Regions from separate parts of the Homo sapiens genome. Here regions 1, 2, 3, 4, 6 and 7 are each linked to region 5. Evidence: promoter capture Hi-C in 16 types of primary human blood cells and fetal thymus (Javierre and others, 2016). All regions are on one chromosome and are shown on one strand. Each heading gives the region's core, a stretch centred on a gene start or on the middle of the fragment in contact. The rest is flanking DNA. Distances are from core to core; before and after follow the strand shown. Region 1 overlaps CSMD3 (CUB and Sushi multiple domains 3). Region 2 has its middle 580 kb from the start of CSMD3. Region 3 overlaps CSMD3 (CUB and Sushi multiple domains 3). Region 4 has its middle 530 kb from the start of CSMD3. Region 5 holds the start of CSMD3 (CUB and Sushi multiple domains 3). Region 6 has its middle 630 kb from the start of CSMD3. Region 7 overlaps CSMD3 (CUB and Sushi multiple domains 3).

Region 1 (3,561 bases), core at 74-2,573, 630 kb after region 5:
TTCCCAACTTTTGAGTTAAAATTCCAAAAGTAGCCGCTTTATTTTCATAGCAAAGCAAGTGGAAAGTCTTTGCAAAATTTGGAACTCCCAAAGCTTATACTATAGCCAATTTTAATTGGAACACTTCTTCAGATTCTACTGACCAAATAAAAGGATCCGAGGAATTATTACACAGTTATTTCATTAGAGTTTTGGCCACTTTACAAAACTGAAATTCACTGTCCACAATATTCTACTAGTCCTCAAAATAGTTTTTTTTTTTAAGGCCTACATAATGCCTTCAGCATCAACAGATGCTCTAAATATTTTATCTCAGTTTGGCAATTTTGCAATTTGTCTATTGAAGGCTTATGCCCTTGTGAAGGGGGAGTTGTAACAAAGCTGAAGTGTCAGTTTTTTATTGCTCTTTAGTTTCTGAGCCTACCAGCAAACCATCAACATGCTGATGACTTACAGATCCCCCACTGGGACAAATTTCTTTAAGTTTTTTCTGTAAATGATTAGAGAAATGGAAGGAGAGTCAGGAAATCCTTGAATACTTTTTCATAAATACTGAACTCCTTTCTAAGTAAAACAGCAAACAGCAACAGAAATGTAAACTTGTTTACTAGAGCAATGAGAAAAAACAGATCATAGATAAATCGGAGAAAAAACTTTGCAGAGGATGGTAGCAAAGTACTAAAGTTTCTGATGTTAGAAACTAAAGGCGTGAATGGAGCAATAAATTTATTTTCTTCTTTAAGATCTTGTACACAGGTCAATCATCTTTATCACATTTACCTTCTTTCCTTTCTGGAAGTATGGCAGTATTAATATTACAGGGTGAGTGTCTTTATAAAATTACCACTTGTCTTTGAATTTTTTTAACTGTGTTTATTTCTTCTAGTAGAGCCTTTGACAAAGGGTATTGTTTGACCATGGCCATTGCTTATGTTTTTTGTAAAGAATTTCTATTGATTCTACACCTCAAACTAAACCACTTGCTAGGGCCCAAAGTGATGAATTGACTTGTTTCAGTTCAGGGCACTTATCCAGCACAGTGTGAGAAAGCTGCTTTTCGGAATACCCCTTTTCTTTCAGAAGGTACACAGTAATCAGATTCCTTTTATTCCAGGGAGTTCCACAGACACTCCCTATGGAATATAGAATATGGTAGTCTTTAATTTTCCCAGCAGGTCTCCCTGCAATAGGTTTACAGGAGGATCAGGAGAAAACTAAGAAAACCTATTCCCAATATGAGGCCCTATTTGTGTGGGAACTGCAGAAGAAAAAGAGCAAGTAGAAGGCTAACTCAAAATACCAACAACGTGTGTTCATTAACACCAGATGGAAAGTAAGACTTTTCTGGGGAAATCACAGAATAAGTAGCACCAGCAACTACTAGAAAATGCACACCTGGAATCCCAGCACTTTGGGAGGCTGAGGCGGGCAGATCACGAGGTCAAGAGACTCAGACCATCCTGGTCAACGTGGTGAAACCCCGTCTCTACTAAAAATACAAAAATTAGCTGGGTGTGGTGGTGCACACCTGTAGTCCCAGCTGCTTAGGAGGCTGAGGCAGGATAATTGCTTGAACCCGGGAGTTGGAGGTTGCAGTGAGCCGAGATCGCGCCAATGCACTCCAGCCTAGTGACAGAGCGAGACTTCATCTCAAAAAAAATAAAATAAAATAAAATAAAATAAATGCAATGAGTTAGCATGAGAGAAAGTTATTGAAATGTACGTATCATCAGTTCCCACATCTGAGATCCCCTCAATCTGTCAGTTTTAGGTCATTCCCAAATTATTTCCCAGCCTTCTGGGCTTTCCTGATTCCCTTATTTCTGCAGTTGCTGTATCCTCTGGATTCTCTTTTCTCCAGTCCCGCCTCCAACATCTGGCTTCTCGCAGTATGGCATATGGTTTTGTTTTCTTTCTTTGCTCACTCTACAGGCTGGCCAGAATAGGGGTTATGCCTTTTACTAAATAGTTCTTACTGGATAATTAACATATCAGTTTTTTTTTTAATTTATTTTCTTCTTCACATTTCTCTAGATTGTCCCAAAACTAAGTAACTGCTGCTAACATTTGAATCTGTCCTTGCCATCCTAATACCCTTCCTCTAATTTGAATTTGGATAGTCATCAAAGGACCTGAGACAAAAATTTTGAACTACCCTTGGATCCATACCGGTAGATTCTGAGAAAGCCTCAACAAACTGCTAATGGAAATCAATGGCAGACTCCCTTGTCTTTCGGATACACCATTGCAGTTTCACGCAGCTCACTTTTAGAGGAAAGATTTCGAGTACAGCTACAAGGAGTTACTTTCAGTGAGTCTCCAAATCTCTTAGTTATCCCTTATTTGTGGAGGGTGATGAACAGTTATCTACCTCTTGGTTCAATGGGTGATCTTCTGGTCCCCAGTGTGCTTGTTCCATCACATGAGTGGAGTCTGCTGATTGCAGAACTCCACACTGTATCCTGTGCAAATCTCCATGCCCGGGACTGTAAACTGAAAACATGCTGCAGAGGATGCCTGCAAACTTCTGGGAAGCAGGGAAAAGAAGCTTTTATTTGAGATATATCAGCTGGCAAGGAGGTCTGTATAACTTCTCAATGGCATCAGCTTCACTGGTGATCAAATAAGAGCTGGTCTTTCTCACATTGTGACAAGATAAATGTAGAATTATATGACTTTTTGGCTTATTTTCCATGTTACTGTTTATTAGACTAAGACTATTTTTTTTCCAAATAGCAAGTGAGACCACTCTACATCTTTTTGTCTTCATGTGGGGACAGTCTTTTATACAAGTTCCCAATTATTCCCCAAGCACGTTCCTTCATAATTTCTGCTTTCCTAAATACATGAAATATAAATGATAAGTGACTTTTGGGGGCACAGTATGTGCTAAAACATTGAGTAGGCTCAGGGTTAGGGCATGAGGCACACAAATCTGTTTCCTCAAACAAGGCAGATAATTCATTATCAGCGAAAGAAGTTGTGGCCTTGTCCTTTGTAGGGAAATACACTAACTAGGAGAACTGGAGGTCTAAAACACCATTGCTTTGATCTTCTCAGGAGTCTACTAAGGCAGAGAAGGATAAAGAGACACAAGGGATGCAGAAAGAGCAGAGATAGCAGAAAAAGGAAGAAGAATCAATGAAAGTGCCTTTAATTTATCCATTTCCTCTTCCATTCTTCTCAATCTTTCCTTCTAGTTATGCAGATCTTTTTAAGTTTCCACCAAGAATAATATGTATCCAATAAATGCCAGCAGTTCATTTGCTGGGGATGAGGTCAAAGAATCATAACAAATTCTGAAAGGTTTGGTACTTGTATGTATTCCAAATATGACAGAGATATTAGCTGTTTAGGAGAAAGAATTGCAGGCAATATCCTTGGCTTCCCCTATTTTTCCACCATCAAAGTTAATTGTAATCCTGATGGGATTTGAGTCCAGATTACCCATGCATACTCATTAATAAAATTTAAAATTTTAAATTTAAATTAATAAATTTTAAATTAATAAAATTTGAGTTTGGAGAGAGTGGTCTATCCAGATACTATTTCAAAAAAGCA
Region 2 (3,756 bases), core at 847-3,346, 580 kb before region 5:
TGATTCAACAAATGTTATTTTCTTCCTCATCAGAATCGCCTTAATTTAGTTGTATAATCTTATAGGTTCTGCTTTCATTAAGGGTTGTGCGAGAAATGCCCCTTCAAGACTGTTTCATTATCTATTTTACAGTTGTTGCTGAGGACATTGTCCAATATATTATTCAAGATTCTCTATATAAAATTATATATGAGAAATGTCTTTAAACCTTTAGTTCTGAAAAAAAAAACCAACAAAAATTTCTGTCTAGAATGTGGACTAGAATGTTTCTTCAAAATAGAATTTATAGGTATATAAAATACTGTAGATGGCGTATAAAGAAATCAATTACATCAGGCCAGGCGCTGTGGCTCATGCCTGTAACCTCAGCAGTTTGGGAGGCCGAGCGGGGCAGATCACCTGAAGCTGGGAGTTCAAGACCAGCCTGGTCAACATGGTGAAAGCTTTCTTTATTAAAAATAAAAAATTAGCCAAGTGTGGTGGCATGTGCCTGTAATCCCAGCTACTTGGGAGGCTGAGGCATGAGAATAGTTTAAACCTAGGAGGTGGAGGTTTCAGTGAGCTGAGATCACACCACTACACTCCAGCCTGGGTGACAGAGTGAGACTGTCTCAAAAAAAAAAAAAAAAAAAAAAAAAAGAAATCGATTAGATCAAATTCAATAAAAAAACAAAATTAAAATGATGAAATTAAAAATAAAAATAAAAATTCCCAATAAAAAATACTATTTGCCACTGGGCATGGTGGCTCATTCCTGCAATCCTAGCACTTTGGGAGGCTGAGGTGGGTGTAACACCTCAGGTCAGGAGTTCAAACCCATCCTGGCCAACATGGTGAAACCCTGTCTCTACCAAAAATACAAAAATTAGTTGGGCATGGTGATGCACACCTGTAATCCCAGCTACTACAGAGACTGAGGCATGAGAATTGCTTGAACCTGAGAGACAGAGTTTGTGGTGAGCTGAGATGATGCTACTGAACTCTAACCTGAGCGACAGAGCAAGATTCTGTCTCAAAATAATAATAATAATAATTGCATATAGATATTCTTAACTACATAAATCAGTAATAAATCAGTTGTTAAATTATTATTTATTATTAAATCTACAAATTTTCCTTCACCAGGTGAGTAAACGTCAAATACCATCATTTTTTCAAAGTCTTTGAAAAGCAGAGCAAACATAAAAATTGCATGAATATATTAAGCATAATTTCCTAAGAATTATGACAGAGCTAAAAAGTGTGGTAGTCCCTCCTTATCTGTGGTTTCAGTTACTCAAGGTCAACTACCATCTGAAAATACTAAATGAAAAAAGTCCAGAAGTAAACAATTCATGTCTTAAATTTTGTGCTGTTCTGAGTATCATGATTAAATCTCACACCATCCCACTTTATCCTGCCCAGGACATGAGATATACTTTTGTCTAGCATATACACAATTTTGCTACACTAGTCATTAGTAGTCCTCTTGGTTATCAAACTAAAAAACATAGTATATATAGGATTTGGTATTATCTGTGGTTTCAAGCTTCCACTGGGAGTCTTGGAACATATTCTCCATGGAAAAGTGGGAACTACTGAACAATAAAAATAATATAATACAGTGTTTTTATTTTAAAATGAAGAATCTTAGACCTGAATGGCTTATTTCCTTGATTGAGGTTCAATTATTTAGCATTAAAACCCAGCTTGGAATTTAAACTTTCTGTTATTGTTTTGATCTCACTGATGTTTTCTTCTTTGTTAACATAAAATTTAAAAGAGCAACTTGACCATCGTATCCATTGATCTACGATAATTCAAAATTTCAAAAAGGTAATCTAACAATTTCTTAAATTCCTTGGTTTTAGTTCAGTAAATCATGAGTAGTGTAGAGCACACAGAAACCCTGAGTATTCCCTTTGCTTTCATGACAGTTGAGTGCTGTTTTGGGGAAATAATGAGCCTCTGTCTCCTGCTGGTCAGGACCTTGCATTAATCTCAGACCATGATATTATTTCCACTTCCTCCCAATCCTTTCCTTTTTCTTGTCTTTTCTTGTCTTTTCTTCCCTCCCTCCCTCCCTTCCTTCCTTCCTTCCTTCTCTCTCTCTCTCTTTCTTTCTTCCTTTCTCTTTTTTTGACAGAGTCTTGCTCTGTCACCCAGGCTGGAGTGCATGATCTTGGCTCACTGCAATCTCTGCCTCCTGGGTTCAAGCAATTCTCCTGCCTCAGCCTCCCGAGTAGCTGGGATTACAGGCACCTGCCACCATGCCCGGCTAATTTTTGTATTTTTTAGTAGAAATGGGGTTTCACCATGTTGTTCAGGCTGGTCTCGAACTTCTGACCTCAGGTGATCTACTGGCCTCGGCCTCCCAAAGTGCTGGGATTACAGCATGAGCCACTGTGCCTGGCCCCTTTTTCATTTACTCACATGTTCCTGAGAATGACTCTTCCTTTAAACATGTTGATTTTCATAATGCACAATGTCTGTATATTAACTTTCCCTCTCTTTATACTTGTAACAAATATATCTCTTTGGAAGAAGTCATATACTTCCATGCCCTATTTTAGTTACATCCCCCACACACGCTCTCTATGACAGAGGTCCCCCAACCCCCGGGGCCAGAGACTGGTACCAGGCTGCCTAGCAGGAAGTGAGTGGCGGGCGGTCAAGTGAAGCTTCATTTGTACTGACAGTGCTCCCGACTCTGGCATCCACTTCCTGTCAGATCAGCAGCAGCACTGGATTCTCACAGGCGCTCGAACCCTAATTCGATTTGTGCATGGGAGACATCTAGGTTGTATGCTCTTTATAAGAATTCAGTGCCTGATGATCTGTCACTCTTTCCTACCACTCCCAAATGGGACTGGCTAGTTGCAGGAAAACAGGCTCAGGGGTCCCACTGATTCTACATTATGATGAGTTGTATAATTATTTCATTATGAATTACAATGTAATAATAATAGAAATAAACTGCACAACAAATGTAATGCACTTGAATCATCCCGAAACCGTCCGCCTCCCCAGCCCTTGGAAGTTTTCTTCCATGAAACTGGTCCCTGGTGCCAAAAAGATTGGAGGCCACTGCTCTATGATATTTCTTTAAACCACATTTTCTGTTTCATTTTGTTTGTGATCCTAATCCTGTACTTTTTCAACATAGAATTTCAGGCCAAGATAGAAAGTTCTGATCTATACTAATTTATAATATATTTTAATCAGAAATAATAAAATACAGATTTTCTTATGTTAATATTCTTTTCCCTCTGTCATGCTAAATCTAATAAATCTAAATAAAACTAGTTCATTATATATTCTATGCATGTGAAACATACATGTACCTCATACATAGGTAAAATATTGTGCATCAATAAAAGAAGAAAAATATTTTAAAAAATCTAAGTAGCCTTTCAGTTGCATTTAGCATGCACATATTTTAATGATTCTACACTTACCATTTAATCTTTTATATCACTGTTTTTTAAAGCTGAGTAGTCATTAAACAATGCTGTCTGAATCATCTACTTTATAAATAGTTGAAAAACAAAACTAAGCAATATATACACCTATCTTATACACACAAGTGAGCTAAATTTGAAAAAATAAGGAAATGCTAAAGGCAATATTTAGAATAGTGTCAACTTTGAGGGAGAGGCAAGGAGATGGTAAAAGTGAGCATATAGGTGTATCTAAATTATTGACTATGTTTTGGTTTGTGGTACATAGGTGTTCACTTTATTATTAAAGAATAAAGTAAAATAAAGCATGATAAAA
Region 3 (3,900 bases), core at 1,031-3,530, 590 kb after region 5:
TGTGAACCTGAGTCAAAAGCCCTGAATTGTTGTGCAGATCATCTCACCTCTCTGAATCTCAGTTTTCTCATCTTTAAATTAGGGGTAATCATCCATGCCTCACCATGTCATAGGAGTCTTGAAGTATCACACAAGTTAATAAATAAAACAGCACTTTGTACATTGGAAACTACCTTGTAAGTTTAAGGAATTATATATGCTTATTTTTCATCCCATCCCTTATTCCAAAGATAACTTTTAGTGAATGACATTATCAGATAGACCATTATACATATATTGAGATATGTTGAGTATTTAAGGATGTGTAAGCATAAGCATAGTACCTAGCTCATAGTGGGTGACCAGTTAACATTTATTGTATAAATAAAATAATTAATTAATATGAATAAGCAATATATATTGTTCGGAAATTACTAGGTGCTTTAATACAGCACAGTCTAAGATGAGTGCACAATGAATAGCAAATATTTTGTTGGTATTTGTACTGCTTTATAAATAAATGCTAACTACATTTATATTAAATCATATTTGTGCCTGTATATTATTTTCTCTAGAGCTACCATAAGGCATAGTTACTGGGTTTTTCATATAGTTCTGATAAAACTTCATTACAACATTTCATATCATTCTGAAACATAGATTTGATTTCTGTTGAAGTGAAGTATTAAATGAGTTTTTCTCTGCTCTTATGTTTTTATGGACACTTGCCCCAAACTTAAATTCAGGTAAAGGACAGCCTTTTCTAGTAGGAGATGAAGTTCCTTTTCAGACAGGCCATTCCATTCTTTGGCTTATTTTAAAAACAAGTAGTGAAGGTCCAATTTATAATGAAGGTAAAATTATTAAACTGTGAAATATTACCTTTGTACATTCAATACATTTAAGCCCATGTTTTTTCTTTAGATCCATTAAATACAATCTTAATCTTCCTCCCCATAAAGTCTTCAGGCATCAGAATACACTCTTGAACTCACCTGTAACACTGTCATCTGAACAATTCTTGTCACTTTTCCATCTTTAGAGATAGCCTTTTGCCACTTCATTTAGTCAGCCCATTTATAGGTACTAGTTCTTTGCGCCAAATATTTGGAGATTTGGTACTTGTGCCAAGCTTCAGTGCCAGGTCTGAAACCTCAGCCAGGCATAGAGAGTCACTTTTCTGCAGACTATAGCTGTCTTCAGTTATGTTCCTGAAAAAGCAGGCCCAAGAGAAGGAATTATATGCTGCTGATTCATTAAGAAAGTGTATCCAGGAGAAACTATTAAGGGAGTGGGAGAGGCAGGACAAGAAGGAAGTTAAGCAAGGTGCAATTTCAGACAAAATCCAAGCCTCTGCTGGATCTCATGCAGTGTAAATTACACCTGATAGTTTATCCCAACTCAAGGCAAAGAAGCTGTGCTCTCATACTTCTGCACCCCATGATCATAGGGTAAGTGATACCCAGATCTTTCAGGGCTCATGTGTGGACCAAGTGGGCTCCTGTAGCCTGAAAGCAGTCTCCAGAAGACTCATAGCTATACACGTTTAGAGACAAATGCATAGTGTATGGAAGATAATGAACAGATAACAGAAAGGGCAAGAAGCATCCAAGGGGGTTATTGATCACCTGGAGCATTGACAGTATCTACTACAATGGAGCAGGCACTAACAAGACCAAACCTGAGGCAGCAGTACAGGGATAAACTGAAATTAAAGCCAGGTTGGCAGTCTTAACAAAGCATGATTCAGAAAGAACCTAGTAGCAGAGTGAAGATCTTGATACAAAACAATTAGATGGAAATTAGAAAAACCAACTACAAGGTTCCCCAAGCCAAGAAAAGTAGCTCTGGTCACTATTTATAGAACACCCAGGCTTGGCAGTAGAATTTTAAAGGCGCTGATCTTTTATTTCCCCTCCTCTTAAGTGAACCATATCTGTATAGCAGTACCTTAACTATTCCTAACCCCTACCAATGGTACTTATTTTTTTTGTTCAAATGGTTTATTTAATTGAAATACTTTATTTAAAGTGAATTACTCTGTGCAAGTACAATAAAATTAAATATCAATAAATATAAATAAATAAATATCAATAAAGAAAAAATGAGGCCAGATACAGTGACTCATACCTGGGAGCTACTTTGGGAGGCCAAGGTGGGAGGATCACTTGAGGCCAGGAATTTGAGACCATCCTGAGCAACATAGCAAGACCCTTTTTCTACAAAACAATTTTTAAAAATTAACCAAGTGGGCATGGTGGCACATGTCTTTAGTCCCAGTTACTCAGGAGGCTGGGGTGGAAGGATCACTTGAGTCCAGGAGTTTAAGGATGGATGAGCTATAACCCTGCTGCTGCATTCCAGCCTGGGTGACAGAGCAACACCTATCTCAAGAAAATTAAAAAGTGTATTTATAAAGGGAAAGAAAAAAGGAAGGAAGGAGGGAAGGAAGGAAGGGAGGGAGGGAGAGAAAGAAAGAAAAAGAGAAAGGAAAGGAAGGAAGGAAGGAAAGGAGAAAGAGAGAGAGAGAAGGAAAGAAAGAAAGGGGAAAAAAGAATATTTCTTTTTTAACATGTTAAAAAAGAATTATCTTTTTTAAGAATAATTTTAACATGTTAAAAAAGAATTATCTCTAGATAGAAGATTACATGCATTTTCCACTTTAATTTTGTACTAACAAAAAAAGTATCAAATAAGATATATGCTTCATTTTATAATGAAAACACATTTTTAAATAATAAATTAAGTAAAAGAAAGGCATAGGTATAGAGTGAGTCATATTATTGACTACTTCCTTTTCCTTGAAACTTTATCCTCCCCAGCCTCTTTATTCTCTGTTTTCCTGAATTTCCCCCTACGTTTCCAGGCTTTTGCTAGTGACCTTATCCTTAAATATTAGTGTTCCTCTATATTAATAATTCAAACATTTTTCATTTTACATCCTTCCCCTTTTCCTTCACATATCTAAATACAAAGTCCAATGACTTCATTATATTTAATTAGTATGCCTTGAAGTTGTTTAACTCCCTCTCACTCAGGTTTCCATTATTCTCCTTTGGATTAATAACCAGCTTTCCAATTAGCAAATCTTCATCTCATTTTTCTGCTTACTCCAAGCCTGTTACTTTCCAAAAAATTCAGTGTGATGTTTTATTCTGAGATGAAATAATGTCTTCTTTGTAAAATATTTAAATGGTTCTGCATAGCTTTATAGAGGAAGCCATGGGCAACCTAAACTACTCTTGTGTTAGACTCATACTTCAACACTCTATTTAGCCCCCAAAGCACTTCTAGGACCCTGTATTTTGGGGATAAGCCGCTCCTTCTGTAGGGAATATACTTTTTCACTTTGTTTACACATCTCCAGTCTTGTGACCCTGTTTATTAATGGCATCTTCTAGGACTCAGGTAATCTTTTACCTTTTCCTAGAAGCCTGTCCTATCTTCCCACCTAGATTGGGAAAGCTTACTCTGCATAACTGACCCATGTGTTGTCACATTACATTGTACTTACATGTTTGTGCACTTATTTTCCTTAGTTTAACCCTTAAGGACAAAAACCAGTTCCTGAGTCCATGCATCCTTAATATCTAATGAAGTAACTGTCATGTGGGAGTTTTTCAAATGAATATTTATTGAAATAACTGAGCAATTATTCCTAGACAAAATAGTTGCTTGTTTATTTCCATGTGTTTTAGCTCTTTCTAGGAATGTCTCTGGTTCTTACCAACAAAGTAGGCAAAATATGCAAATGGCAAAGCATTTTTGTTTGTATTTTTTCCACTACTGTTCCCACTACTAACCATTGGGTATACCCACCATTTTAATCTCAGTATTATGATTATACCGGAATCATATGCATAATCAGAGCTGTGTTGAATAATAATTTGACATAAATAGTAAGGAATTCAAATAAATTAT
Region 4 (3,555 bases), core at 954-3,453, 530 kb before region 5:
AAGTTGAACTCTTGGGCATTTATCCCAGTGAAATGAAACCTTATGTTCACAAAGATATTTGTACATGGATGCTGCTATTTGTATATGGCATATAGGAATAGTATTGTTTAAATCCTAATTTCAACAATTTATTTAAAGTTACATGATTGCATGAAGAATAAAGATGATGTTTTATTCATCCACATGTACTTTTATTTAAAAGGTAATTTTAATGTCAAAGAGCAAAATATAGCTGCATTAAGACATTTATGGGAATAATTTCAAAGTCACATTGCAAGGGAGTGTGAACATAGGAAGGAAAATAATTGTAGCTAATTTTTTAAGCAATCTACACCATATGGGCATGAAAGGTTGAGCTTAATGTTGAAGTGAAAAAAATAAAACTAGCTGAAACATAAAACAAAAGATTATTCCTGTAATATTTAGAATAAATATTAATCTCTATAACAAGGACACACAAAGATACAATGGTTCAAAGAACATTGATGTTTACTTCTCTCTTCTATAAGGTTGTCAATGGAACCCATTTATTTAGCTGGACAATTCTCTCATGCTCACTGAACCTAAGGTAGGTATTCATTTTACCACTTCACAAACAGAAGGACACAAAAGAGAAGGCAAAAATAAGCAAATGTGTCTTTAAACAAAAATAATAGTCTCTAGCTGAGCAATGATGCTCCTCAACAAAACACACAATTTCTTTTCTTTTTAAAATGGCAAAAATGGATATTGTGGGGAATTAGTAGTGTCCATGGAAATAACATTCATCATTAAAGCCCTAATGATCCCAAAGTTGGGTTTACTATAAAGCAGCAGCAAAATGTTATCTTGTGTAATGGTTCCCTAGGAAATTAATTGCTAATAAGGGGGTAAAATACCCTAGGGTAAGATATTTAAAAAATACTAGTGTAAAACTGTACATTTTTTACATGATTACTTTAAAGATTTAATTTACCATTGTGCATTATAACCTTTCTTATAGAGTGGTATTTTGAGCAGCATTTTCTTGAGAAATTTTTTTGGAGGAGGATTTAACAAAAATAGTGTTCTGAAAAAAATACACTGGAAAATATTGCCATAAAACTTATATTATGTTAATGATGATCTTATGTCAATGACTTATTCATATCATTTGAAACATTATAGATATACTTTCCTTCCAACTATTCAACATCACATTTTGGCTACAGTATATACCCATGGAATTTGAGTGAATTAATTAATCTTTATGAAAGTATGAAAATATTTGTTCACAAAAACACATAATAAGCTCAAAATAGCAGAGAGAGATGAAGAAGAATACAATTTAAAATGTTGAAAACATTTTCTCATACATGAAACAAAAGAAACCTAGAGTGAGAGAGTAAAGAATTGGTTGAGAAGTTCATATATTCCAATTAAGAATATACTATGCAATATTTTGTAAAGGGTTTGTTTAATTTTTTGTTCTTCTGTCTTTTTATTTAGACCTCCACAAGGACAGAAATGTGTTTATTATCATTGCTTTTGTTTTTATTATTATTACTTTTGTAGTATCATCGAAACCTTGAATAGTGACCAGAACTTAGGAAGCACCCAATAAACATTTGTGGAGTAAATTAATTCCACTGAGATTTATTCCTGAAAGACATACCATAAGCTGTACTAATGGGGGTTAATTAATAATTCCTTAATTAATTGAAAATGCTGTTTCAATATGTCAGAACACATGGGTATTCACACATGGTTTGTTGAATTGCATCTCCAAGTTGTTAAATTAATAGCTCAGATATCTTGAGCTCTGGGAATTTTATTCACATTCTGAATTCTCCTCAAACTATTTACTTAAGGGTTTAAACAACAATATAAAACTCCTTTGAGGGAATGATGAAAAAATTAAAGGGCTTGTTTTGAACAAGAGACTATTAATATGAATAGGTCATACCCAGGTTATAAAAACATTTCTGAATTTAATCCTCTTGCTAACTACAGTATATACCCACGGCCATCAGGCACTTCACTTAAAGATATGTGTGTTTTCTAAATTCAAAAAAATGTGATTTCAGGTGTTTATAAAGCTCATATTAATATATTTTAATAAATTAACTCATTCGGTAGACTTGAAAAAGAATAGTCTTATTTTGGTTTGACCTTAATCTACATATTATGTTTTAGATTCACCCTAACTTAACATGGAAATATCATAATTTGGTCTTTATCTAACTTATATAAGATTGGTTGTTGGCTAAATATTTTTGACTCATATCATTGTAAATATAGAACATTTTTCTTTCACACTGTACTTTCTGAGATTTTTTCTCTTAATCCTTAATTAAAGGAAGTATCTTTATTGCCAGAAAATCTTCTTGTCCCTAGTTTTCTTTATTCCAAAAAAAGTCAAAAGAGGGTTTATGATTTAAAGGCATTTGGTAGAAAAGAGATGAAAGGGGAAGAAGTAAATATCCTGTGTTTATCGCATATTTTTAAGGTAACAAAACAACAATATATTTTGTGTATTAATGCATATGTGTAATAGTATTATAAATTTTAAAAAAGACAAAAAAAAAAAATAACCCAAACACATCCAGTGATAATGATATTAGTTCCAAAGCTGCCTCTAAGGACTGAGGAGAAATGGTATGAAAGAATAGAGAAAAGGAACAATGAGCTTATCTGTAGTATTTTTTCTTGTGTTAAAAAAAAAGTATAAAATTTAAAAGCCAAATGAATATTTGTTCATTCTAGATGGTGAGCTGTTAATTAGTTTCTATACATTTCTGTGCTATAACCTTCGTTTTCAAAACTTATATAATTACAAAAGCAAAATCTATTTCTGTACAGTTGTTAAACTTGCACCATGCATTTAAACTTACAAAATTCTGAGAAAAATCATCTAAAGAAATCTATTAACACTTAGAATTTAATCATTTTAACTGTTAACATATTATTCATCTTATTGTATACAAGTAATGTGACACTTTTTCTATAAAGCCACTGCTAAATTCCTAGCCCCATACAATAAAAGCATCTCCAGAATGTATTCCATCTCTTTCACTTCTTCATTTCTTTAATTCCTCAAATATACATTCCCCCTTCTGAAACAGAAGCATACTCCTTGGACCTTGTTCATTTTCTGAAACTTTCCTTTTGTCACCACTCAGAGAAATTTGTGTTTTATTTTTTGTTTGCTTGTTTTGTTTTGCTTCATCACAACACACACTTGAAAGTTCTAAGCCCTTACTCACGGCATTATCTCTGCCTGGAGGGCAAGTCCTCCATTGTCTGCTCAGTAGAAGCCCTCTCAACCTTCACTCCCATTTTTCAGTCAGCTTGCTACAGATTTATCTGATAACTCATCACTTTCACTGCTGCTCATGCTCCCTTGTACAAATCCCTATTGCTGCAAAGACATGGCCGCTTTCAAGAGACTGATCTGACTTTCAAACTATAAACGATAATCATGGAAGCCAGAAGCCTCTGGTCTGAAGACCACTTCATGTACCTTACTATAATGGATGAAAGCAGATACTTGAAATAAAAAATATTAGTTTCTAGTCTTGTCTCTGCTACTTAAAA
Region 5 (3,586 bases), core at 309-2,808:
AGAATCACAGGCCCACACACAATGCCACGTACCCCGAGAGATCAGAAGCCTTCCTACGCCTGCAGATTGAACTCACTCGCCACTCAAACCTATGGACACTCGCAGTGTGCCCACTTCCCAGAGCGGAACTCCTTCCAGATTCTAACGCCTTCCTCTGCTGAGCGGGCAGCTCCAACGCGAGCCAAGGGACAAAGCTGGCCAGGGTAATGCTGTGGTGCACGGGACCAAACCCATTATTTGTGCACAGTGCAGGGAGCTGCAAACTCAAGTTGGGCAGTCCTCTAGACTAAGCCTTGTTGATAGACGCTCACGCCCATGATAGCCTGAGGCAGTTAAATGGAGCCACACGCAACAGCAATATCCTGTTTCAGAACTAGCGCTGTGGCACTCCCCACTGCTGAGAGGGGACCAGATTCCCGAAAAGGTCAGATCACCAATCAGTTGCCTAATCTAAGGAACTTGTTCATTGAAAGATTTGGGCCAGGACCGTGGTCGAAAAAAATCAAGGAGCACGACATACTGGTCCCGGGGACACAGCTCCCCTGACACCAAGGGATGGCAAAAACAGGGTCCCTTATACATGCGAAGGAAGAACGGGCGGCTCGGAGACGGCCAGTAGATGGCGCAAGAACTCTTCCCTTGTGCAATCTTAACCCTTGCGTGGTGCATGGGGGAAGCAGATCCAGATGTATAGATACATACATTTTTCGTTTTGAAAGAAACCTCCTATTTACATATTTGGTACCGATTCAGAATTAAGACAAATGGGTTTGTTCTAGATAACTACCACAGATAAAGTAGTTTAACTGCGGCACACACAAACTGAAAAGGGGGTTGGGAGGATGAAAGGGAGAACTATTTGAGGAAACGACATTGACTTCCCTCCCCACCCCACCCCCGCCCAGGCCACGGATGAAATCCGTTTCCCGAATCATAAAAACCCGGTGAAGGGTTTACACGTAGTTATTTGAGTATGTAAATACATGTGTTCAAATACATTCTTTTCCGTGTGAAGGCAGAATTTATTGAGAAAATTCTCTGTGATTTCCTTTTTCAATTAAATCACAGGATAATAAATGGGAGAAGCCTGCCTGAAATATACTGCAACTACAGTAGTAACACATGTCCCATTATAACGACGTGGGCATCGATGGAGCCCGATTCATTATCGTCACGGTTTCCCCAAAAGCAACACAGATCCTCCGATTAAAATATTCCTTTGACATGCTTCTGTATTCGCAGCCTGCAACGGAGAGCTCACTAACATTATTTCTTGGGCTGCTTTTACAGGCAGAATTGATCTATTCGGGGAAAAAAAGCAAGCCCCTTAATTTCAAATATTGTGTGGAGTTTATCAGAGAGCAGAGGTGGGCTTTAAGAGGCTCACTAGTGGTTTCTGGTGGTTGCTATAACGAGCCAGAATTGGGGTAGATTTTGGTGGAGGGGAAAAAACGCACAAGAAAAGACAGAATCCAGAGTAGCGGAGACTTTGTGCCCCCGTTGGAGAGATGGTTGAGTCCTCGTCAAGGTTGCTGTGGTATCCCAGAAACACCATTCACTCCGAGCTGTGACCGCGCACCAACAACAGCAACAACTCCACTGCGCCGGGCTGAGGAGCAGGAATTAGGAGCTCGCGAATAATATGAAAGGGATCCGCAAAGGGGAAAGCCGAGCAAAGGAATCCAAACCCTGGGAGCCTGGCAAGCGAAGATGCGCTAAATGTGGCCGCCTAGACTTCATCCTGATGAAGAAAATGGGGATTAAAAGTGGATTTACGTTTTGGAACCTCGTCTTTTTATTGACGGTGTCTTGTGTGAAAGGTAGGTCTGCTTTGGGGGTCCCCTCCGCTTTGGATGGAGGTGGGCTGACTTGTAGATGGAGAGAGGCTGGCAGCTTACTTTGCAATTTGCACCGATAAAATAATCTGATAATACTAAAGGAGTTGATTCACAGCTCGTTCTCCCCCCCTCAGATAGGAAATGCATTTTGCTTGCCAGATTTGGCGTTCAATGCGGTGATTGAGCTTGTGCTCAATAAATATTCTTGCAGTATGCTCAAACGAATACGTGAGTTGGTTAGTATAGCCTCTAACTAGTGGATATCCAGGCAGAATTCCTCTGCAAGACTTTTCTTAGTGGTGAGGATTACCTTGATTTCTTGTCAGATCACTAGGGCTTGAGGCTTTGGGTGGAATATATATATTAAAGACGCTGGTCTAAATGCTTTTTAACCCTTTCAGGGAAGAAAGTTATCGACGTGCTAGGAATGTGTTGATTTTAAATGCATTAGGGCACAGGGATCTTCCAAGCACTGCCACATCAACATGAATGTCTGCATGCATATGTATGTAAATTGGGCTTCTATGCAATGTTAAATGTAGGGGAGCTTCCCTAGGACCTGTGGTAGAGGTTTGGCAAAAAATGAGGCTTTCGAAGGGTCTGAAATGCCATGAAGTGTAAAGAACCACCTTAAGGGATGAATGAGGTAGGAGGAAAGTCATTAGCTGACGACCAAAAGAAAATCCCCAGCAAGTCTCAGCGTTCAGACAGGTAGAGTGAGTGTCACATGCACAGATAGGGGAGGGGGTAGGTGGGATGTAAAAATGTATTCCCAAGCAGGAAGGCAAGGGACAGTCAGGATCATGGGAAAAAGAGCTGTCCTTAGGGAGAAAATAGATCCATAGCTCTCTTCCACAACTTCTCCGGCACCCTGCTGCCCATTAATTGCTGCAAAGAATACTCAGGAGGTGTTTATGACTCATGCCATCATTTTTTGAACAATCACCTCTCCATACTCATGGCAGCTCGAATAGACGCTATGGATGCCGCTTTCAGTGAAGCTAGTTTCAAATCCCGGGTGTCTGTGTGTCGCGGGGGGGCGGGGGATCGCGGGAAAGGGGGTGCTGTTTTGGCCCAGGCGCGCCAGGGCTGTCAACACAAACTGGACGCTTCTTCCTTTGTAAAGGAGTGCCTCTCTGAACTGCAATCGGGCCGCGTCTCTATGAAACAGTTTATTGTCCAGCTTGCAGCTGGCTGTCCCCCCACGGAAGGCAGCTCATTTGCATTCAGTGGAAATGATAATTCATGTTTTGGGAGGAGGGAGCTGGAGAGGTTACCTTTCCCTCTACTATAACCAATGATGGGTGGCATGTCTAGAATTTTAATTTACATCCCAAAATGCCAGGAAGTCAGTCGCCCCGGTCTCTGTGGCAGCAACTGCCTTGTAATCCCAACCTGCTCCTTGAAGCTTGATTTTTCTTTTCTCTCTGGGGCCTCAGAGCAGCTCTGAGCCGAAAAGCTTGTCCTAAGTGGCACAACTACACTGCCAAATGTACAAAGCACGGCTCAGGTTGCTTACAAGGTTTCTTTGTCGCTGGCTCGACGGGTGAGGAGCCACACATTTATGCTTAGTTCGCCTGCCACTGGGAGTTGGTGGTTAATGGATGGCCCTGGGGCTGCCTGCTAGACGCGCGCTTCGCGTGGGGGAGGCGCGAATAGCCAGCAGCAGCCCTGGCAGAAAAATGTAAGGGTGGCTCCTGTGAGAAGATGACCAGGGTTTAAGTGCGAGTTTTCATGTGATACCTGTT
Region 6 (4,119 bases), core at 667-3,166, 630 kb before region 5:
GACTTAAATTTTAGAAAGAAATAAAAGCTGCCAGTCATAAGAATTGTATAATTTCTAAGCAAACTAATTCCCCAAATGGAAAAAGGTAAATAATTGAAGCTTAATAAAAGGATAGAATCAGGGAGCCATAGCAACTGATTGTAGAATTGTAGCATGTAAACTGTGTACCCAGAAATTAGATTAGCAGTAATGGTAAGACTTCTAAGGGACTGTATTAAAGAGAATTATAATAAGAAAAGAAAATCCTGGTCAGTCACAGGTAGAAGATCATATTTTCTGGTTAACTAAGAGTTGCCTGAATTCAAACCTTGTTAAAAATAATTCTACTTGCACTTACAAAATCTCTTACCTCGCTAAACAAAATTTACTCAACAATTCAAACATTGATAATTTGGGGATTTACTATGCTTTAGAATTGATATTCTTAAGTTATTTATTATCATAGTTATTGAGGGTATGGATAAGAAAATTTAAGGTCACAAGCTGAACCCAAATTTAGGTTCCCAATTTGATAATCATGAACCTTGGGCAAATTATGTAATCTTGCTAAGTCTCAATTTATTGTATTTTTCACTTTACTAAATATCACCAAACTGTTCTTCATGATAGTTATTCTAACTGCCATTCCTACCGGTAGTTTCTGAGCATTTCCTTTGCTCTGAATTTGCACCAACATTTATGTTTTCAGGTTTTATAAGTTAGGTCATTCTGATGATTGAGGAATGATTCAGTATTATAGTACAATTATGTTTTTACACTTCATGGGTTCATTGGATTTTAAAATATTTTAGTCTATTTATACATTAGGTTATTTACATTTTCTTTTTTTTTTTTTTTTGCCTTATTTTGGTGTGTGTGGTGAGAACGCAATAGCCAATCTCTTAACAAAGTTCAAGTGGTTTGCAATACAGTATTATTAACTATAGTCACCGTGCTGTACCTAGATCTCTAAAATTTATTCATGCTACATAACTAAAACTTCGCATCTTTTTGATTAACATTTACCTGACAGGGCACGGTGACTCACGCCTGTAATCCCAGCACTTTGGGAGGCCGAGGCGGGCAGATTTCTTGAGGTCAGGAGTTTGAAAGCAGCCTGGCTAATATGGTGAAACCCGTCTCCACTAAAAATTAAAAAACAAACAAACAAACAAACAAACAAAAAACTAGCCAGGCATTGTGGGGCATGTCTGTAATCCCAGCTACTTGGGGAGGCTGAGGCATGAGACTTGAACGCTGGAGGTGAAGATTGCAGTGAGTCAAGATCGTGCCACTGTACTCCAGTCTGAGTGACAGAGCAAGACTCTGTCTCAAGCAAATAAATAAACAAAAACCATTTACCCATTTTGCCAACCTTTATCCTTGGTAACCACCATTCTACTCTGCTTTTATGAATTCTAAGTGAGAATCATGCAGTATTTTTTTCTAAATTCTAAAGTGAGATCATGCAGTATTTTTCTATCTGTGACTGGTTTACTTCACTTAGCATTATATCTTTCAAGTTCATATGTTGTTGCAAAGGGTAGGTTTTCCTATTTTAAGACTTAATAATATTCCTTTTAAAGGCTTAATAATAATAGTAACCCTTTAAGTGTAGTATGTGTAATATTGTATGTAATATTATGTCAAACATTATGTCTAATATTACGTGTAAATAATTCATGTATTTACCTTTAAAAAATACCTTTTAAGGTTTAATAATATTTGGAATATTATTAAGCCTTAAAATAGGAAAGCCTACCCTTTGCTACAACATGGATGGACTTGAAGGACATTTTATGTATATAAAATGATTGGTTATTAAGTGAAATAAATGGCCAGTCATTTTATATATGTAAAATTACTTACTTATGTATTAATCCATAGAGGGACACTTAGGTTTTTTCAGCATCTTGGCTATTGTGAATAAGTCTACAATGAACATGGGAGTGCAGAAATCTATTTGAGATATTGAATTTATTTCCTTTGGATATATAACAAGAAGAGAAATTTGTATTTTCTTATTACTTTTTAAGATTTTATATATACTAGAGAGTAATTAATTAGACATTAGATGCAATGAAAAGGTTTCTTCTAATCAATGATTTTTTAAAAATTTTGTCATGTTGATAAGTAAATTTTAATTGTAATGTACCAAATATGAAACATTTTGTTCTTAGTTTGCATGCTTGTATTTTGTTTAGGAAACCTTTCCTAACAAAGATTACTAAGATACTGTTTTATCTGATATTTTTGAAGTTTTACTATGTACGTTTAGGTCTTTAGTAATACATTTAGGTCTTTAGTAATGTAGACTTGATTTTTGTGCATGTAATTTAAGGTAAGGTACTTACCTTATGTTTTCTGTTATATATACTTCTCACCTCTCCTCATTATAATTTCTCTTTGAAAGTGGGGCTGATTCCTGTGAATCCTAGTGGCAACCTACTTATGGTTGGTTGGAAACAGAGGTAAAAAATTGTAAGGGAGAAAGCAATATTTTCCCTTCTTATACCTTGGAAGATGCCTCTAGCAGCAGCAGCATCTCTTTCATAGTGCCAATTCCTGTCAGACAGATGCGGAAGTTCTAACCTCTGCAAAGCAGTGCTAATCTCTCAGTTTAATCCAACCTCCTCCATTTATCTCTCCAGTCTAGGGGCAATCATGTCTTTCTGCCTGAATTTTTAGATTGCCTTAGTGTGTCCTAGTTAGCTTCTCAGCCTCTTCTATTATGTGTAAATAATTCATGTAATTACCTTTAAAAAATAATAAAAAGGATGGCATTTAATTCTTTTTCTGTATTTATGGAAATGAACAAATGTTTCTCCTTTGTCTTTTAATACTGCTTTTCATCAGTAAATTGTATAAATGTACAATCAGTTTTGTAGTGTGGTTTCACTTTATTTGGCAACAATTTTTTATGAACTCTCTTCATCTTCATATGCCTGAAAATATTTTTTATATTATTTTATAATGGTTTATTACATTTTTTAACCTACTGGATTCACAGTTATTTGCCACAGCAATTTTAACATATTCTATTATTTTCTTGTTTTCAAACTAGAATGTAATATGCTCCACAAAGGAAGGAATTTATGTCTGTTTTGTTCACAGCTCTCTCTGGAGTATGCATACTAATGTCAGGGAAAGAGTAAGCATTTAATAAATATTTGAATATTAGATAAATGAAAACTGTTGCTTTTCAGAAGCTGGGTGCAATCTAATTGCAATGTCTTTGTAAATAATATTTTCTCTCAAGCAGTGTTTAAAAGTTATTTCTTTTCTATGTTTTTGTTTTCTACAGAGTTTCTACAATGTGTGCAGGTATTAATTTATAATTATCGTGTCTGATATTCAGGGTGCACTTTAAACTTGAAATTAGTTTCTCTCTCTTTTCAAATATTTTGCTAAACTCTTGGTAATTATCTCTTTAAACATTGTAACTCTGACATTTGCTGCTTTCTCTGTTACTTTCATTTGAAGAATGCAGGCACAGACCAATCTCTCCTTTGTGCCTCTTACCTTTTCTTTAATATATTTTATATCTTGATTTATCTGTAATGCATTCTGAGTTAATACTAAATATTATATTTTAATTTAATATATCTTTACAGTTAACTAGAATAAAAATGACCCTTTCCAAAAAATATCAATTCCATTGTTTATATTATCCTATCTGTTCTTCTTTCATGACTACCTGTATTTGTTTCATTATTTATTTTTAATGATTTTCTTTACTATCACTTTAAGCTTCTAAAGTATGTGCATTTTAAAATTTTCACCAGATTGCTTCCTTAAAATTAAGTTCACTTCAAATGAATTCCTGTATTATTGTTGTTTTCTAGGATATATTTTTAGCATGTTATTCCTTTATGTGTTTTGTAATTTTGGTTGGCAGGTTCATTTTAAGTAGGAGCCATTTTGTTTTTCTTCCATTGTTATTATTATTTGTATTTTTTCTCTTTTTCTTCCTTCCAGATAGCCCTTTTGCATTTCCATCAATCTGGCAAGTCCCCAATCTAGAATGAAGTCTTATATGTTTGAAGTTATTGTAGATTGTCATGAAACTAGTAAGAGTTGGCTAAATTCATCTTTCAATGTTGTGTTTTTGCTCTTCCCTGCTCATTCTATATAATCCTG
Region 7 (4,071 bases), core at 324-2,823, 610 kb after region 5:
GTGTGCCTCTCAAAGTATTGTGCTCCCAGTTTTGCCGCTCATTTTAATATATTTGAGGAATTCTTTTACCAAACGATACATAAAAATAAACTTGATACCATTCTGGCAATCTAGATTCAAGTTTAGCTCTAACAAATTTTAAGCTTTACTACTTAATGGAAATAGCACACTCTGTTTCTGCATGTTAACTTTATAAAATATATATGCAAATATGTGGAAAACCACTCTCCACCTACATATACTTTTTATAAAGCCTTCTTAAAGTAGATTTGCTTTAATCATTCTTCAAGTAAGAGTATTCTATAAACAGAAACCATGCAATTTCATTGAAAATTTAATGCAGAAAATACAATACAGCAAGTAAAAGTCATGTAATGATATGATTGAACTTTAAGAATATTCTAACATGACTTGCTGCCATACTATGAAATTATATATATATTTATACATAATTGAACTGCTTGTGTGTGTGTGTGTGTGTGTGTGTGTGTGTGTGTGTGTGTGCAGAGAGACAAAGAATGCATTTCTGTCATTGCTTTTTTTGTTGTTTTTATTGCACAACGCAGTATATTTAAGGTGCATGTTTCTGTTTACTGCTAGGTTATCCAGATAAATTTTGAAGAATTTGATCTGGAGATTGGCTATGATACCTTGACAATTGGCGATGGGGGCGAAGTTGGAGATCCTAGGACAGTGCTCCAAGTGTAAGTTCCCAATGTTTCATTTTTGCCTTAGCCTATCGGGTACTAATAAAATTTTACTTTCAAATTATTGTTTTACATTGATCGCTCCCACTACTACCAGCAGAAGATGCACAGTAACTTAGTTATTATTGTTAACTTTCATAGAATCTGTTAGTGCTTCTTCAATGAGATTTAAGGCACTTTGTCTCAGTTCAGTTGGGCTTCTCTAACAACATGCAGTAAACTGGGTGACTTATAAACAATAGAAATGTATTTCTTATAGTTCTAGCGGCTAGGAAATACAAGATTAAGGTGTCAGCAGATTTGACGTCTGGTGAGGGCCTGCTCATCTAACCTGATGCTTCTCAAAATAGGGTCTTTTTGCATCACAAATGCATCACAAATACCTGGTGCACATTTGAAAATGTAGATTTTTAGGCCCTCAAGCCGAACTTAGTGAATCAACATCTCCAGGATGTGAATTTATCAATCTATATTTTAACAGAATCACTGCATGATCCTTATGCACATCAAAGTTGGAGAACAACTGATATAAATGTTAAAAAAATTAGTATCAGCATAGACAGCTACTACTGGTAATGCCCTTATTGTATGTAAATTGACTAAAGGTAAGCTATTTTTTTTTCCTTTTTTTTTCTTTTCCTTTTCATTCTCTTCTCCCTCTTCTTTTTATTTTCTTTTTAATTTTACAAGAAGGCCTCCTAGAACTATTATTCCAGAATCCTGTAATAAACCAAGGGTTAAACTCATAGTCACACATAGTATGTTGTGGGCTCCAATATTACTGCTCTTTAGTGTTACTTTTCTAGAAAACAAAACAAAAACCAAACTTACTCACCTGTCTTCATGCACTCTTGACCTCAACTTCAACCTCTTTCCCCTGTCTGCAACGTGGATATCATTGATCAACATGATTTGGTGGTCTATCTCTGGCCTACTACAGTTCTGTTTTGTGTTTCCTAAGGTGTGATGGACAAATGGGCCAGCATTTTACATGCTTTATATGTTCAATTATTAGTTCGTTTTCACACTGCTTTAAAGAACTACCTGAGACTGGATTATTTATGAAGAAAAGAGGTTTAATTTACTTTCATTTCCACAGGCTTAACAGGAAGCATGACTGGGAGACCTCGGGAAACTTACAATGGTGGCCGAAAGCAAAGGGGAAGCCAGGATGGTGGCAGGAGAGAGAGAGAGATGGTGGCAGGAGAGAAAGAGAGAGAGAGAGCAAAGGGGGAAGTCCCACACACTTTAAAACCATCAGATCTTGTGAGAACTCACTATCATGACAACAGCATGGGAGAAATCCACCCCTGTGATGCATTCACCTCCCACTAGGTCCCTCCTCCAATTTGACGTGAGATTTGGGTGGGGACACAAATCCAAACTATATCAGTTATGTTGCTCACATTTTTGTAACTTCATTCTTAACACTTCCTCTCTTGAAAATGATCAGCATTTTTGTTGCACCTGAGCAACAATTTGAGCCTGTTAGGCATATTACCATACTGAACTGACATTTTCCAGAAATAATCAATAGTTTCTACTAAATCTTATTGTAGTTTTATACCTGATAGCTTAGATTTCATTATAATATAAAATTGCATATATTTTACATGCAATATACTGTAAAATTGTATATATATAAATTGGCAGCAACAGAGCTGCTCTGATGATTAGCTGTGCTTTTTTCCTATCATTATTTGTCAAATACAGAGTTTTAAGGAACTGAAAATTACATGTAAAAATTTGAATTTATGGCTTCTTGTAAAACTGGTGACCCTAGATCTTCATAGTCATGTGGCAAAAATTGGCTAGGACTGTCTTCTGCCTCCTATGGAGAGGGCCTCTTTGTGGCCCTAATCCCTCTATCATTTTCCACTTGAGCTTCTAAGATCCTTTGCGTTGCCTGCCTGGGCCTATAGCTAATTAAGTGACACCTGATATAAGACAAAATGTGGATTGCTTTCTTTATCAATTTATTCATTGTTTTGCAAGTGAATATGTTTGTTTCTTTACCTGACACTCATAAACACTGAAGTTTCTTGGATATTAATGATACATAGTAAATTTGGTGATTAATCCTCACACATTGCAGATGTTTCTCTCTACATGTTTGTTAGATCCTATCACATGCACTTTAGAGATAAAATTGTAAAACATGTATTTGATGAGATATCTTTTCCTTTTTCTCCTTAAGACAGAAAACTGGATTTTAGGTTCAGATTCTTAAAAACATGGACAAGAAAAGGCAGGCTGGCTAGTCAATTGACTAAAAAATACTTTTTAAGAAGCTTTCATTCATGTATCTGCCACAAAAAAAACTTCCATCTCAGCATTGGATAAAATATTAGAAATCATCTTGTCCAACTGACATCCAAGAGCATAGATGCTATGTCCTCCTATTGCTGTTTTCTTAAAAAAACAAAAAAAAGCTATTTGAGCTAATTGGTATCACACAATTGTGGGTAGAAAGATTATATATATATATATATATATATATATATATATATATATATATTTATGGTAACCTAGTAAAATACAGAAGAAAGATGTCAAAATTATCTTAAATACTCAACTATTAGAACTGGTTAAATATAAAAAGAGTACATTTGTTGGGATTGAGGAGTGGTCTGTACAATCCCTAATGTTAAAAAAAATGTGTGTTTGAACCATATTTTTCACCCTATTTCAATGTTAGAAAAATTCGGAAGACAATCATGAATTCTGATGTACCAATTGATATCCTTTTTGGACAGAAAATCATTGTATAAGTAACATAGAATGACTATTAGGTATTATTTTTCAAAAGAATACCAAGTACCCAAATGGTTGTTCCTACACCATCAAATTTAAAGTTTCCAATGAGAACTGCATCTTCAGTAGGGATTAAAAATTAGGCTTTGGGGCAGGGCCAGTATGGCCAACTAGAAGCAGCAGAGATCGGAGGCTGCCATTGAAAAGAACCACAACAGTATGCAAATCCTGCACTGGCAATCGAGATATCCAGATTCTGTCATCAGAACTGACTAGGTGGCTAGCATGATCCAAGGAGAGGAAAAAGAGCAGTGTGGTGCAGCAGCCCACCTGAGAGCCACATGGGGCAGGGGAGCCCCCATTCCATAGCCAAGGGAGGTGGTGAGGGAGTGTGCTACCCAGCCTGAGAAACCATGTTTTTTACATGGAACTGTGCAACCCACAGATTGGATGATCCCAGTCACAAGCACACGCCACCAGGGCCTAGGGTCCCAACCAGAGATCCACACAGATTCTCAATAGCCACTCATCTAGAATCTGCTTAAGCCTGCCGAGCTCTCAGGGGAAGGGGTGGCCAGCATCTCAGCTGTGGCTGCCTGTTGTCTAAGTC

Evidence for each region. The method cuts DNA at HindIII sites, captures the fragments that hold promoters and counts their contacts. A CHiCAGO score of 5 or more calls a contact.
Region 1: a contact is called between a fragment that was not itself captured here and the fragment with the promoter of CSMD3 in region 5, in 10 of 17 cell types (M0 macrophages, M2 macrophages, M1 macrophages and 7 more). The highest score is 37.3, in M0 macrophages.
Region 2: a fragment that was not itself captured here is called in contact with the fragment with the promoter of CSMD3 in region 5 in 1 of 17 cell types (neutrophils); the score reaches 5.0 in neutrophils.
Region 3: a contact is called between a fragment that was not itself captured here and the fragment with the promoter of CSMD3 in region 5, in 1 of 17 cell types (M2 macrophages). The highest score is 5.6, in M2 macrophages.
Region 4: a fragment that was not itself captured here is called in contact with the fragment with the promoter of CSMD3 in region 5 in 1 of 17 cell types (neutrophils); the score reaches 5.0 in neutrophils.
Region 6: a fragment that was not itself captured here is called in contact with the fragment with the promoter of CSMD3 in region 5 in 1 of 17 cell types (megakaryocytes); the score reaches 5.9 in megakaryocytes.
Region 7: a contact is called between a fragment that was not itself captured here and the fragment with the promoter of CSMD3 in region 5, in 4 of 17 cell types (M2 macrophages, M0 macrophages, M1 macrophages and 1 more). The highest score is 9.3, in M2 macrophages.

What each region holds. Positions count from the first base shown.
Region 1 is chr8:112,802,775-112,806,335 of GRCh38, reverse strand. The region is part of intron 12 of CSMD3 (CUB and Sushi multiple domains 3); the gene reads left to right. Among named protein-coding and RNA genes, the nearest start is that of MIR2053, 160 kb to the right of the region's middle. The HindIII fragment of the contact is 2,455 bases long and covers 96-2,550 here.
Region 2 is chr8:114,010,442-114,014,197 of GRCh38, reverse strand. No RefSeq gene overlaps it. Among named protein-coding and RNA genes, the nearest start is that of CSMD3, 580 kb to the right of the region's middle. The HindIII fragment of the contact is 1,132 bases long and covers 1,531-2,662 here.
Region 3 is chr8:112,844,893-112,848,792 of GRCh38, reverse strand. The region is part of intron 11 of CSMD3 (CUB and Sushi multiple domains 3); the gene reads left to right. Among named protein-coding and RNA genes, the nearest start is that of MIR2053, 200 kb to the right of the region's middle. The HindIII fragment of the contact is 2,333 bases long and covers 1,114-3,446 here.
Region 4 is chr8:113,965,830-113,969,384 of GRCh38, reverse strand. No RefSeq gene overlaps it. Among named protein-coding and RNA genes, the nearest start is that of CSMD3, 530 kb to the right of the region's middle. The HindIII fragment of the contact is 6,634 bases long and covers 1-3,555 here.
Region 5 is chr8:113,434,911-113,438,496 of GRCh38, reverse strand. It overlaps CSMD3 (CUB and Sushi multiple domains 3), which reads left to right and starts at 1,558. Exons shown (of 71, transcript NM_198123.2): 1 at 1,558-1,820. The coding sequence starts at 1,643. RefSeq lists enhancers at 124-624, 637-686, 2,464-2,974. The HindIII fragment of the contact is 6,354 bases long and covers 1-3,248 here.
Region 6 is chr8:114,064,604-114,068,722 of GRCh38, reverse strand. No RefSeq gene overlaps it. Among named protein-coding and RNA genes, the nearest start is that of CSMD3, 630 kb to the right of the region's middle. The HindIII fragment of the contact is 3,630 bases long and covers 102-3,731 here.
Region 7 is chr8:112,826,319-112,830,389 of GRCh38, reverse strand. It overlaps CSMD3 (CUB and Sushi multiple domains 3), which reads left to right. Exons shown (of 71, transcript NM_198123.2): 12 at 601-704. Among named protein-coding and RNA genes, the nearest start is that of MIR2053, 180 kb to the right of the region's middle. The HindIII fragment of the contact is 2,855 bases long and covers 146-3,000 here.